Regions from separate parts of the Homo sapiens genome. Here all the other regions are linked to region 3. The links are contacts of gene promoters, found by promoter capture Hi-C in human tissues and cell types (Jung and others, 2019). All regions are on one chromosome and are shown on one strand. Each heading gives the region's core, a stretch centred on a gene start or on the middle of the fragment in contact. The rest is flanking DNA. Distances are from core to core; before and after follow the strand shown.

Region 1 (2,843 bases), core at 315-2,814, 190 kb after region 3:
CCTCCCAAAGTGCTGGGATTACAGGCGTGAGCCACCGCGCCTGGCCCCATTGTTGTGGTTTTAACTTGGGATTCCTTGATAAGGCTGAGCACCTCTTTAAATGTATACAGCCATTTGGTTATATTCTTTTGTGAAGTGCCTATTAAGTCTCTGCCCATTTTTCTATTGGGCTTTGTCTTTCTCAATTTGTCGGGATGCTTGAAATATTCTGGTATAATTTCTTTGTTGGTTTATATAGCTTGACTTTTTGCACTTTCAGTAGTGTCTTTTGACAAACAGAAGTTATTAATATTAATAAACATTATCACCTTTTTCTTCTTTATAATTGGTGCTTTTTCTATTTGATTTAATAATTACTTCTTTATCCTCAGGTCATGAAGATGCTATAATATATTCTAAAAGTGGTATTATTACTATTTGGTGTTTTACACGTAGGTCTACAATTTAGATGGAATTCATTTTTATGTAAATTGTTAAGAAATAATCCACTTCCACTTTATTTTTCCATATGGATCTCCAGATGAGCCAGGATCATTTATTGAAAAGATCTTAATTTCCCCACCACTCTGCAGTGTCAATTTTATCATAAGTAAAATGTACATATATGCACAGGTCTGTTTTTGGACTCTTTATTCTGTTCCATTGGTCTATTTCTAACACTAATACCACTTTGTCTCAATTAATATAGTTTTATAAAGAGCCTTAATAGCTGACAGAGCAAGTCCTCCTAAATTAGGTTTCTAAAAGAGTTTTTGGCTATCCTAATATATACAAATATATAGATACCTAGAAAGAAAGAGAGAAAGACAGACAGACAGGGTCTTGCTCTGTCACCCAGGCTGGAGTGCAGGGGTGTGATCACAGCTCGCTGCAATCTAGAATTCCTGGCTCAAGTGATCCTCCCTGCTTCAGTCTCCCAAGTAGCTGGGACCACAGGCATGTGCCACCACGCCCAGCTAATTTTCAAATTTTTTGTAGAGATGGGGCTTATCATGTTGCCCAGGCTTCACAAGATTTTTAAAACTGGAATTACATTGAATCTATAAAGGAATTTAGGGTAAAAGTTAACACCATACAAACCAGTTTTCCAACTCCAGAAACGTAGTATATATCTACTTTAGATTATTCTTAAATTTCTCCTAATAAAGCTTTATAGTTTACTTTTTAGATGTTTTACACATCTTTTAAAAGATTTACTCCTAGGTTATTACATTTTGTTATTGTAAACAGTATCTCAAAAAATTTGCTTTCAGTTTATTGTTGATCTATGGAAATGCAATTAGGTTTTGTTTATGGATCTTGTTATCTAGCAACTTGCTAAACTCAATGCCTGTAAAGTTTTTACTGGATTTTCTAAATGATCACATCACTTGTGAAGTTTTAATTTTCTAATCCTTACATATTTTCTTGTATTGATTGAGACCTTACTGTATTGATTACTGTATTGATTGAGACCTCCAATACAATGTGGAATAGCAAGGATAATAATGGACATCCCAGCCTTGGTCCTCATCTAAAAGGGAAAGCTTTTCACCATTACATATATTTGTCGATGGGTTTTTGTAGATATCACTAATCAGAGTAAAGAAATTCTTTTCTATTGTTGTTTTGCTAAGAGTTCTTATGAATAGTTGTTAAATTTTATTAAATGTCATTTTTGCTCAATCGAGATGATTTTAAGATTTTTCTCCTTTAGTTCATTAATGGTAAACTATTCTAACTTTCTAATATTAAATCTACTTTGCATTTTGTGTTATAAACCCAACTTTAGTCATAATGTATTATTCCATTTGCTAATATTTTTTTTAGGATTTCTGGAACTATAATAATGAGTAAAACTCCCTGTAATTGTCCTTTCATGATGTGTCATTGCTAGGTGGTATAAAAGTAGCTGATGTGTGTAGTCTCTTTTACTGAAAAAAATTTGTAATTTGAAAATGTATCTTCCTTCTTCTTTTTTTTTTGGACAGGGTTTCATTTTTGTCACCCAAGCTGGAGTGCAGTGGCACAATCTTGGCTCACCCTGTAGCCTTGACCTCCTGGGCTCCAGTGATCCACCCACCTCAGCCTCCTGAGCAGCTGGGACTACAGGCATGAGCCACCACACCCTTGTATAATTCTCTACCCTCAGGGGCCTGGAATCTGTAATATGATGGGATAGCCACTCCACTGATTAGGTTACATTACATGGCCAAGGTGACGTATAGTCACTATCATGATTACAGTTGTGTTATACTGGATTACATCATAGCCAAAAAATTAGTACTGAAGAGTTGGGCACTGCTATAAAGATACCTTAAAATATGTAAGAAGCTTTGGAATTTGGTAACTGGTAGAAGCTGGAAGAGTGTGGAGGGTTGAGAAGAAGACAGGAAGATGAGGGAAAATTTGGAACTCCCTAGAGACTGGTTAAATGGTTGTGACCAAAATACTGATAGTGATATAAACAGTGAAGTCCAGGCTGAAGAGGTCTCAGATGGAGATGAGGAACTTATTGGGTACTGGAGCAAAGGTCACTTTTGTTATGCATTAGCAAAGAACCTGGTGGCCTTCTGCCCCTGTCCTAGGGATCTACGGAATTTTGAACTTGAGCGTGATGATTTAGTATATCTGGCAGAAGAAATCTCTAAGCATCAAAGTAATCAAGATGTAGCCTGGCTGCTTCTAACAACCTATGCTCATACGCATGAGCAAAGACATGACGTAAAACTGGAACTTATATTTAAAGGGGAAATGGACAGTAAAAGCTTGAAAAATTTGCAGCCTGGCCATGTGGTAGAAGAGAAGAGCCCATTTTCAGGGGAGGAATTCAAGCAGGTTGCAGAAATTTGCATAAGTAAAAA
Region 2 (2,837 bases), core at 265-2,764, 250 kb after region 3:
ATTTTTACCACTAAATTTGTTACGGGGGAGAAAGAGGAAAGAAGATCTGTCTTGTGCTTTGTAACTCCTAACACAGTGAATAACATATAAGGGCATATTATATATCTATTGAATAATTTAAAAGTGGTTCTGAATGAAATATGCCATAGGTAGCTCACCCCAGAATAAATACCAGTTAATTTTTAGCTATTTGCACAAAGACTGATATTTTCATCAACATATCTGAGTGTAAACACTTTCAAAAGAAAAATGTTTTAAAACATTTAAAAGTGTCATTTTAAATGCCTTGCTGCCTATACACCAGAATCCAGCCTTAAACATTCTAAATATAGAAAGTAGAGTTTGCATTAAGAAAAATGGAGTCAAATGGACCCTGCCTAATAGACTGTTATTGCCAAAAGAAATAAACTCATAAATTCAGCTTTTGTATTTTTATAATGGCTGTACCTCTGAGGGGTTCATGTTTGTCTTCTCTACCATTTCCCTCAACTCCTTAATCTCAAATTTACTTGGTCTCATCTCTTGCAAGCAAAATGAAAGTCAAATGGCCTCCTGTGCCCTCTTTGAACTGGGCTGGTATCAAGCCAGTTGGGGCCTTTCCTGGTACCCAGGCAAGAAAGTATATTTCATAGCACATAAGCAATATCTATTTGGCACAATTTGCATGAAGCAGTTTACTGAACCAATAAGTCATTTGTCAAGGTGACACTCCCAGCAAGCTTCTCTTTCAGCATTCTGCCCCAATCTACCCTTCTGCCACATTCCCAGATTGGTCATTGGAATATTTAACACTCTTCCCATGTATACTCCTCAAACAGACTTTTCCCCAGTTCTGACAAGAAACATGTAGAGTTAAGAGAAAGCATTAAAAGATGCCACACACTGACTTAATACATGAGTGATACTAGACTAATATAATCCTCCCACATTCCAGCAGTGCCTGGCTAAGGATTCAGTTTAAATCCTTACAGAACCCTTTTAATTAATTTTTTAACACAGCAATAAACACCCCCATGATGATTTAATTAAAGTTTAAAACCATCTTTTTAGATAATTTTAGCAGGAAATTCCTTAAACTCATTTTAAGAAATTCTAAATTATTCAATGCAAAATTCCAAGGATTAAGAGTTAAATTCTTTATAATTCTTTTTTTTTTTTTTTTTTTTTTGAGACAAAGTCTTGCCCAGTCACCCAGGCTGGAGTGCAATGGTGCGATCTCAACTTACTGCAACCTCCACCTCCCGAGTTCAAAGGATTTCTCCTGCCTCAGCCTCCCGAGTAGCTGGGGTTACAGGCACCCGACACCATGTCCAGCTAATTTTTGTATTTTTCGTAGAGACAGGATTTCACCATATTGGTCAGGCTGGTCTCGAACTCCTGACCTCGTGATCCACCTGCCTCGGCCTCCAAAAGTGCTGGGATTCCAGGTGTGAGCCGCCGTGCCCGGCCCACATTCTTTATAATTCTTAAGTGTGGGTGAAAGGTAGAAGGGTGACAGCATATTCTGGTTCCTACACAAGAAATTGATTTATAATCTTTTCATGTAATGAAATTAACAGAAAATCAAACTTATTCAAGTAAAGCAATGTAAAGCAATGGCTTCACATTTTCTTTTCCTAGAGATTTAATTCAATTTTCCCCATATAATAATGGCAGAACATAAACACCTGTCTGAGGGCATTAAACTGTTTTTGTAAACTGTTTTGTAAATTTATCCCTTCATTATTCCTCACCTGGTCTACTGCAGCAATCTTGTAACTCATCTATTTGCTTCTAATCCCTTTCACTTCATTTTCCATATAATCCACAGAGTTACTTCTCTAAGAAGCAAATCTGATGATGTCATTACCTTGCTAAATACCCTTTCCCTGGTCCAGATCATTTCCGGAATAAAATCCAAATTCCTCATCATAGCCTTCAAGGTTCTTCATTACCTAGTTCTTGCTAGCTATCACTTTTCCTCTTGCAAACTATGTTCCATGAACTCTGAATATTTTTCAGTTTGCCAAAGAGACATATGTTTCTTGACTTTGTATCATTATATACACTCAGAATGTCCTTCCCTTCTTTTTCTCCTCATGAGCCCTTATTTGTCCCTTAAGATACAGTCCAAGCATAAATTTCTCTGTAAAACACTTTTTTGGCATTCTCCACTCCATACTATAATCCATCCTAGGCCATATCTCAGTTAATCTCTTATGGTTATATTACAATTAAAAACTAAACTTGGCTGGGTGTGGTGGCTCACACCTATAATCCCAGCACTTTGGGAGGCTGAGGCAGGCGGATCACGAGGTCAGGAGATCGAGACCATCCTGGCTAACACGATGAAACCCTGTCTCTACTAAAAATACAAAAAAATTAGCCGTGCGTGGTGGTGGGCGCCTGTAGTCCCAGCTACTTGGGAGGCTGAGGCAGGAGAATGGCGTGAACCCAGGAGGCGGAGCTTGCAGCGAGCCGAGATCGCACCACCGCACTTCAGCCTGGGTGACATAGCAAGACTCCATCTCAAAAACAAAAAACAAACAAAAAAATAAATAAAAATAAACTTACTGAAGCAAAATTTATATAACATAAAATTTACTATTTTAAAGTGAATAATTCATCAGCATTTAGTACATTCACAACGTTGTGCAACTACCACTGCTGTCTAATTCCAAATGGTTTTAACTTTATTTTACCTCTCAACAAAACTGCATCTTTGTGTCCACAATACTACAAATAATGATAGGTGCTCAATAAATAAAGATGGAATCATGTATTCAACTGTGGAAAAGCACCGCATCAATTATTTTTCTCTTTTTATTAGTTTTAGAAAAATAAAGAATTAAGTTACA
Region 3 (3,027 bases), core at 194-2,693:
TAATCCCAGCACTCTGGGAGGCCAAGGCGGGCAGATCAGGAGCTTGAGACCAGCCTGCCCAACGTGAGAAACCCTGTCTCTACTAAGAATAAAAAATTTAGCCAGGCATGGTGGTGGCACGCCTGTTAATCCCCGCTACTTGGGAGATTGAGGCAGGAGAATCGCTTGAACCTGGGAAGCAGAGGTTGCAGTGAGTCGAGATGGCGCCACTGCACTCCAGCCTGGGCCACAGAGCGAGACTCCGTCTCAAACAAACAAACGACAACAACAAAATGCAAACTCTGGCCAGGCGCGGTGGCTCATGCCTGTAATCCCAGCACGTTGGGAGGCCAAGGTGGGCGTATCACTTGAGGTCAGGAGTTCAAGACCAGCCTGGCGAACATGGTGAAACCCCATCTCTACTAAAAATACAAAAATTAGCCAGGTGTGGTGTCATGCACCTGTAGTCCCAGCTACTCAGAAGGCTGAGGCAGGATAATCGCTTGAACCTGGAAGACAGGTTGCGGTGAGCACAGATCGCGCCACTGCACCCCAACCTGAGCGACAGAACAAGACTTCATAAAAAAAAAAAAAACCCCACGCAGATTGCAGATTCCTGGGCCCCATCTTCGCCTTTCTGAATTGCAGCCTTTCACCCTTTAAGAATGAGAGGGTGAAATCTGCACGTCATACAAATAGCCCAGGGGCTATTAATCTGATGTTGCTCCCCAGCTCCCTCCAACACCGTCAGAGGGTGCACGGATTAGGCCTCTGCTGCGTGCAGAGAAGCATCCTAGGTGCTGCGTGGCTGTGCCAAAGCAGCAGAAACCGGTGGTGTGCCTTAAGATGCATGCTCCAAAGCTGTCCACAAGGCCTCTGGTACAGGCTTCCAGGTCTACGTCTCGGCTTCCCCGACAGTGTCCATGCGACACTGTCACCAGTTTCTCCTCTCACAAGCAGAAAATCAAATTCGGATTGGGCAAATGATTCCCTGCCCGGGTGTGGAATAAGGGTCAAGTCCTAAGTATGGAGAGAGAGCGCCGGCTCCCGCCAGGATATGCGAAGCTCTGGAGGGGAGGCCAAGCCACCAGGCACCCGGCGGGAGAAGAGGAGGCTGGAGAGCGCCGCCCAGTGCCTGCAGGCCGGGCGCTCCACGCCTCCCCTCCCTCCTGCACACCCCATTCCCCTCCGGTTGCCCCGCCTGGGAAGCCCCCTCCCCACACCTCCCGGCCCAGCATCTGCACGAGAGCCGCGAGCCCTGGCCCAGAGCTCTGGGTGGGCCTCTCACCCCAGACGGCGGCCGCAGCCCGTCCCTGATCACCGGCCGCCTGAGCCCTCCGTTCGCTCGGCGCGAGCGCCGCCACCCGTCCTTACCCCCATCCAGTCCGAGGCCAGCCCCGTAGGCTCCGAGCCTGCTCCGTGAAAAGCCTTTTCCCCAGGAGGAGAGTTACTGTAAAGCAAGAGGAAGCCGAGAAGAGGCGGTGGCTGCAGCGCGCGGGGCCCGGCGGGGGCGCGGGGGCGTCGGGGTACTGACTGGGCAGCGCGGTTTCCCCTCATCCCGGGACACGGTGCGGCGCTAGCGCCACCCAGCGGGCGCGGTGGGAATTGCGCTCCCTTCCTGCGCTGGGGCTCTGGACACACAGGCGACCAAGAATGACGCCTGCAGCCGGATAAACGCTCGGGGCAAGGCCGCTATCATCCCTCTGCCGGGAGTGAGTCAAGTCTCAGCAAAAGAAGAAGCCACTTTGGCCAAAATTCCAAGAGTGCTGATGAAGACGGTGACATCTGACATTTCAATGGCACTTTCCATTTCCCCCGGGGTGCGCATTCCGGGCCAGTGGAGCGCTGCGTCGCCTGTGCAGGACCTGGAGGTCTGCAGGACTGTGACCAGTCGGAGTCTCGGAGTCGTGGGTTAAACATTAGTCGGGAGCACTCGTTCATTCCCTGAGCTCCCCTTGCCCTTCACCCTTCGGTCCCGGAAGCCGGAAGGGAGACTGCCCCGCCCCTTGCCTGCCGCCCAGTGGCTCTCCCGGGGCCCTCTTGGCCCCTCTCTCCCAGCCCTCCATACAGTGAAGGGTTGTTTCCGCTGGTGACTTCCACCTGTGGGAGCAGAGAAAGGAAGCGGGGCAGAGGAGAAGGGGAAGGTGTCAGGCGATTCCCCTCCTTGCGCTGCAAGCCGGGTGGGAATAGAACACCTGCAGCCCTCCCCGGCGCCCTGCGAATGAGGTGGGAGTGGGAACGCCATCAGGGCAGAGCCCCTCCAGCTGGCTGGGGTCTGCACCTCCTCGCCAGCCCGGCCACCTCAAAACGGTGCTTGCCTCCCTGCGGGGGTGTAGAAGCCTCTTGGAGCAGCACTTGTAGAAAATCAAGTCCCTGGAAAGAAGCAAAATTAATCCGTTTGTTTCTCTATTTATTTTTGCTTCCCCACACCAGGTATTCACTTCATCCAAGGCTGCCCAATGTCACCTTCCACCCAGAGGAATCTCCCCTCTCCACCCCAGGCCAACAGCCTCTGCCTTCAGCTGTGGCCTCCACTCTGGCATTACTCTGGGCAGAGGGCTCAGGAGGGCTCAAGGAGGACCAGTGACATTCAGAGTGGCCAGAGTAAAGGGAGGGAGGGGGAGTGGTGGGAGAGGCGTGCAGAAGGCACAGGTGAGGTGGCGGAGGGGGGCAGGTGGTGGGGGGAGCGGGCTGGGGTGGGATGGGCCTGTCAGCATAGCAAGGGCTGTGATGGGCTTGAGTCTGACAGGGGGCAATGACCTGACCTACGGTTTTGTAAGATCACTCTGGCTGCCACCTGGAGAGCTGGTGTGGGGATGATGGCCATGGTAGACACAAGGGGAGCAGTTAGGAGACCACCACAAGTGACCATGCGGCCCAGGCGAGTAGGGTAGCAACAGAGATGGGGAGAGGAGGTCAGATTTGTGATCTGTATCTGAAGGTGGAATGGACAGGAATTGCTGATGAGCTTGGGTGTGGTGCATGAGGGAAAGAGAGAAATAAGCATCATTCTTAGGATTTGTCCTGAGCAACTGGAAGAAAAAGAAT

The links. The method cuts DNA at HindIII sites, captures the fragments that hold promoters and counts their contacts. A contact is called where the count stands out against the background at its distance.
Region 1: a contact is called between a fragment that was not itself captured here and the fragment with the promoter of C1orf220 in region 3, in 3 of the 25 tissues and cell types used here (IMR-90 fibroblasts, adrenal gland and dorsolateral prefrontal cortex).
Region 2: a contact is called between a fragment that was not itself captured here and the fragment with the promoter of C1orf220 in region 3, in 3 of the 25 tissues and cell types used here (psoas muscle, small bowel and spleen).

The regions. Positions count from the first base shown.
Region 1 is chr1:178,353,092-178,355,934 of GRCh38, reverse strand. The region is part of intron 3 of RASAL2 (RAS protein activator like 2); the gene reads right to left. Among named protein-coding and RNA genes, the nearest start is that of CLEC20A, 140 kb to the left of the region's middle. The HindIII fragment of the contact is 3,225 bases long and covers 1-2,843 here.
Region 2 is chr1:178,290,367-178,293,203 of GRCh38, reverse strand. All of the region lies in intron 2 of RASAL2 (RAS protein activator like 2), which reads right to left. Among named protein-coding and RNA genes, the nearest start is that of RASAL2, 200 kb to the right of the region's middle. The HindIII fragment of the contact is 3,441 bases long and covers 1-2,837 here.
Region 3 is chr1:178,541,212-178,544,238 of GRCh38, reverse strand. C1orf220 (chromosome 1 putative open reading frame 220) reads right to left here and starts at 1,443. Exons shown (of 3, transcript NR_033186.1): 1 at 1,354-1,443. It overlaps LOC124904460 (a long non-coding RNA gene), which reads left to right and starts at 1,594. Exons shown (of 2, transcript XR_007066748.1): 1 at 1,594-2,205; 2 at 2,413-3,027. RefSeq lists silencers at 1,209-1,278, 1,309-1,638 and an enhancer at 1,689-1,748. The HindIII fragment of the contact is 22,776 bases long and covers 1-3,027 here.